Linked DNA regions of Homo sapiens: region 1 is linked to region 2. Evidence: promoter capture Hi-C in human tissues and cell types (Jung and others, 2019). All regions are on one chromosome and are shown on one strand. Each heading gives the region's core, a stretch centred on a gene start or on the middle of the fragment in contact. The rest is flanking DNA. Distances are from core to core; before and after follow the strand shown.

Region 1 (2,700 bases), core at 144-2,643, 46 kb before region 2:
GCCAAAAACTGAATACAACCCAAATGTTTATTCACTGGTGAGTAGATTAATAAAAAGATTCTTATAGATCTATAAAATGGAATACTACTAAGCAATAAAAAGGAATAAACTACTAATACACACAATAACATGGACAAATCTCAAAAGCATTATTCTATGTAAAAGAAGCCATACACAAAAAGACTACATACTGTATGACTCCATTTACCTGGCATTCTGGAAAAGACAAAACTATAGGGACAGAAATCAGATCACTGGTTATCAGGGAAGGGGAATAAAGGTATGACTAAATAGATGCACGAGGGGACTTTTGGGAGTAATAAAAGTATTCCCCATCTTGACTGTGCTGGTCGTTACATGAGACTTTACATTTGTTAAAACTCAGGACTGTACAACTAAGAGGGTTGCATTTTATTGGTGTAAATTTTACCTCAAAAAATCTGACCTAAAATAAAACAGAAAAAGTATGATTTCCACAAAAGATGCAATTTGAGAACACAACTGTTCCTTTTTTTCTATGTACCCTACTAAAGGTGCTCATCCAGGATTCTGTCTTTGGCATTAACTTCACGTTATTAGACTCTCCTGTGCCACTGTATGGTATCTACTCCCAACAACAAACAATCTCAAATCTCTATCTACAATCCCTTCCTCAACTGTCTACTGGATAGAGACCTTCAGTTGGATACATCAAACTTATTCTGTCCAAAACTTAAGCCACTGATCCTCTTCCTGCTTTTTTTTTTCTTTTTGAGACACAGTCTCATTCTGCCGCCCAGGTTGAGCAGTACAGTGGCGCAATCTCTGCTCACTGCAACCTCTGCCTCCTGGGTTCAAGCGATTCTCATGTCTCAGCCTCCCGAGTAGCTGAGATTACAGGCATGCGCCATCACGCCCAGCTGATTTTTGTATTTTTGGTAGAGATGGGGTGGGTTTCACCATGTTGGCCAGGCTGGTCTCAAACTCCTGGCCTCAAGTATCTGCCCGCCTTGGCCTCCCTGTTGGGATTAGCAGGCATGAGCCACCGAACCCAGCCCTCCTGCATCCTTTTTTAATCAATGAGTTGCACTACCATTCACTCCATGGCCAAATTAAGAATTACAATCATCCTTGATTTCTCTCATTCCCATATAACTCACAAATCCTATTGACCCTTGTCTGTCCATTTTTCCCTTCTATCTTCTCTGCATAGCTAATACCTTAGGACAACCTCTTTCATTTTACGTAAGCCTACTGCAGTTAGTAGTTTGCCTGCCTTCTTTCTCTCTCTTCTCTTTCACATATGGCCACCATTCAACTTATAATTGCCAGTCTTAGTTGTGATCAAGCACTGCCTTGTTTTTAAATCCTTCCATGGTTCCTCAATGCCCACAAGATAAAGCCCAAATTCATAAGTATATCCTATTAGTCTTTTCACAACTCTGCTCAATCTGCCTTTCCAGTCACTTAGTCACAGCAAACTACTCAACTTTCCCAGGACCCACCATAAACTTTCAAGCACCCATACTTTGTATAGAGTGTTTCCTTTCCTGGAAAGTCATCCTCTCCTCCTGTGTATTCTTTAAGACCAACCTTAAATTCTGTTATCTCCTCTGGGAGATCTTAACCGTTCTAGATAGGATTTAATCACTCCCTCCTCAGGGCTACCATAATATTAGCATATATGTTTATTCTAGCATTGCTACTTGTTTTAGAAAATATTTGTTTAGAGAGTCCCTTGAACCAGACTGGGCAGAGACTGTTTGTTAAATTATCTTTATATCCCCAAAGCTTCAGATAGTGACTGGGACAAAATACACCTGAAATACATATTTACTGAACTGAATGTTACAAATGCAAAGAATGGAAGCCAAAGCAGTATGATTTTATCCTACTTGGATACTGAATATTCTACAAATTTTGGTTTAATTATAGAAAGGAAATCTGAATGACTTTAGCTTTATCTACTAAAATACAAAAACAAAAACAAATACCATCTGTTTTCATTATTCTGAGCAAGTGTCATTAAGGGCTAACATTTACAATAAGAACACTGCAAAGAGCCCAGTGCAAAACACAAACAATATATTTTGAAGTCCAACAAAGACTTCTAATGTAATTTAGCACAAATATGAAGACAAAAAAAGCAAAACAAATATTTATGAATAGTACAACTAAGAATTACATTTAGATTTGTGTTTATTTCCATGTACTCTACATTAAAAGGAACAGTTCTTTAGGAAAGTCCTGAATTGTTAAGGAAAACAATAAACATAAAAAGGCCAATTTAGCATTTAGCAGCTACTGTAAACATATGACATAAACGTTTGCAGGGATGGAGACTGCATGATGAATTGTTTATTCATAATTCTGCTTACATAGCAGGGTGGTACTAAAAAAAACTGGGCCCAGAGTTGTTTTGTGGCACAACTCCAAGAGGCACCCCATTCACAGCACAGATTATCTGAATGGCTCTCACTAGAACTGTAGTGTGCAAAGCCTATGCAACTGAACTTAGTAGCCATACTTGGACTCCCAAGTAAGACATATCTGGCTTTGGGACATTGCTCTGACATTAACTCTGTAACTGAGGGCAAATTAATGTCTGGGAGCCCCAACTGTCTCATCTCTAAAATGAGGATGTTAATATCTATCTCACAGGATTGTTATTAGGGTTTGATAACATTATTGGGCACTTACGTATATTTCAGGCACTGTATC
Region 2 (2,700 bases), core at 91-2,590:
TGGGTCAAAGAAGAAATCAAGGTCAGGCACGGTGGCTCACACCTGTAATCCCAGCACTTTGGGAGGCCAAGGCGGGTGGATCACCTGAGGTCGGGAGTTCGACACCAGCCTGACCAACACGGAGAAACCACGTCTCCATATCTCTAAATATCAAATTAGCCCGGTGTGGTGGCGCATGCCTGTAATCCCAGCTACTTTAGAGACGGAGGCAGGAGAACCGCTTGAACCCAGGAGGCGGAGGTTGCGGTGAGCCGAGATCACACCATTGCACTCCAGCCTGGGCAACAAGAGCGAAACTCCATCTCAAAAAAAAGAAAAAAAAAGAAGAAGAAATCAAAAGGGAAATTAGAAAATACTTAGAAATGAATGAAAATAACACAACATACAAAAACTTATGAGCTGTAGTGAAAACAGTGATCAAAGTGAAATGTATAGTTGTAAATAACTACATTAAAAAGAGGGAAAGGCTGGGAGCAGTGGCTCACACATGTAATCCCAGCACTTTGGGAGGCTGAGGAGGGTGGATCACTTTAACTCCAGAGTTCAAGACCATCAAGTTTTACACTTACAAATGATTAAAGTAATAAACATTACGCATGTTTTACCTCAATAAAAAGCCCCTCACCACCACCAAAAACGAAAAGAATGGTCAAAAACCAGTAAACTGGATTGGCAAGGAAAAGAACTCTAGAAGGATCCTCAAGTTTTCCGGTCTGGATAGGAGATGAGATGAACTTGAGATCATTAAAAGGTACTTTCACATCAGGACAGCTGGAGATCTCGTCCATGTAGCTGCCTGGGTTGTGAATGGTCAGCATGAAGTAGGTAACGGAAGCCATGGGAGTGCAAGAGTTTGCCCTAGGAAGAACTCCAAGGCAAGAACCCTGAAAAACACATCCAAAAGTGAGGGGAGAGCTTTCTGCTCTTCGGGCTCCCGCGCGACGAGTCTACACCCCTAGGCTAAAAAGACTTACCAAAGTTTAAGTGCAGAGGAGCCCTTCAGGCCCAAGGAGGCAGCGGACCGTCTAGGCCCAGCTACAGAAGAGCCGCTGAGACGGGGGTCCCGAGCAGCGGGTCCCTGCGAGGCGCACAGGGCCTGAGCCACAGACGCTTACGAGCTAAGGCACCTCGGGGTAGTAGGCAGTGAAGCTAGTGCCCAGAGTACGGTGCCCTCCGTCTGCGCCCCGCCCACAACGCAGAAATTCCCTCTCGGGGCCCCTGTTGTCCTCCGAGCCTTCCGATTGGCGGAGAGGACCATGGGACCTGGAAGTTGTCTTTGTCCGGCCAGGGCTGCCCTTCCGGTTCCGTTGGGTCCCCCTTTGGCTCGGGTTCCTTGCCCCTCCCCCTTCCCGGAGCCCCGAGGGGCCGGAGCTCCTGGCGGTGCCGGATCCTGACGGCGGCCTTCCCCCGGGTCTGTAAGTGCGGAGACGGCCGGAGCGGCGGGCTGGGGTGCGGGGTGTCTCAAAATGGAACCCCCCTGGGGCCCTGGATCAACCGGGACCTGCACTGGGATGGGAGCCGAGAGGCTGGCCTAGGCCCCTGGGGACTTGAGGAGCCCTTGGCCCGGCCCACGCTGCGCCCCGCCCCTTTCCCTTCCCTGTGACTGGAGTGGGGAGCCTGAGGATGCCCCTGGGACCGCCTCATAGGACCCCAGCTGAGGGCCCAGCAGTTGGCTTGGGGGCCTGACTCTGGCATCTTATAAGAAGTGCCAGAGGTGAGGCCCTAAGAAAACGAGCCTCGGGAGCCAGCCCAAGACCAGGCATTCAGTGCCAGTCTTTGAGAACCACTGTGAGTGCTAGGTTACCCTTTTGCTGGGGTTTTCCCCTATTTGGCCACTGGTCGCAGCACCTTTTATATTACTGGCGCTATACCAGACACTGGAGATTGGCAAGATATTGTTCCAGTTTTCGGGATTAAGTTTGGGAGCCAGATCTGAACAAATAAGTACTCCTATGTGTATATATATGTATGTATGTATCAGTCACATATGTGTTAATTGCTCAAGGGGCCGTTGCTGAGAAGGCTTTAGAAAGAAAGTGATGTCTGAATTGTACTTGGAGAGAGTAAAGTGTTGAAGAGTTTTTCAGGGAAGACAGTTGCAATACTGTGGAGAAATGACTGAGCATAACTTGTGTGGGAAGAGGAGGAAATGGGGGGACTCCTATGCACAGAATGGATATGAGACTGGGAAAGTCGACCGAGGTCCAGATGGTGAATGGTGTAATCCTAAAGGAGATGGGTAGTTTTTTGAAGAGTTCGGAACAGAATATTGATATGGTCAGATTTGCACTGCAGGAAATCATTTTGTTCTGTAGAAAGCCCATAGAGAAGGGACTTTCTATTAACTGCATTTAGACATTTAGCTAAAAGTTAGGAACGCTTATCGGAGATTCTTTTGAAGGGGTAATGGGATCAGCCTAGTGAGAGGCAAAAAATTCCTGAAATAAGTTATAATGGTGTCATTGGTAAGGAGACAAATATACTGGAGATGATTATGTCAAGACTCCATAATTAACTGAATGCTGAAGAAGTGTGAGGGACCAAATCTAATTCTTAGGTTTTAGACCTCTGAGCTGAAGGATGGTAATGCCATTATCAGAAATAAAGCCATAAGCTTAGTGTAGATTATGAATTCATTTTTTGGACATGTTGAATTAAAGGTCTAATGAGACAGACACATAGAGCTGTCCAGCATGGAGT

Evidence for each region. Contacts are between HindIII fragments. The study calls those that stand out against the background at their distance.
Region 1: a fragment that was not itself captured here is called in contact with the fragment with the promoter of ZBTB26 in region 2 in 1 of the 25 tissues and cell types used here (mesenchymal stem cells).

The regions. Positions count from the first base shown.
Region 1 is chr9:122,975,760-122,978,459 of GRCh38, reverse strand. The region is part of intron 2 of RABGAP1 (RAB GTPase activating protein 1); the gene reads right to left. Among named protein-coding and RNA genes, the nearest start is that of RABGAP1, 36 kb to the right of the region's middle. The HindIII fragment of the contact is 3,118 bases long and covers 1-2,700 here.
Region 2 is chr9:122,930,152-122,932,851 of GRCh38, reverse strand. It overlaps ZBTB26 (zinc finger and BTB domain containing 26), which reads left to right and starts at 1,340. Exons shown (of 2, transcript NM_020924.4): 1 at 1,340-1,415. It also overlaps a transcript of RABGAP1 not described here. RefSeq lists a silencer at 1,229-1,568. The HindIII fragment of the contact is 7,569 bases long and covers 1-2,700 here.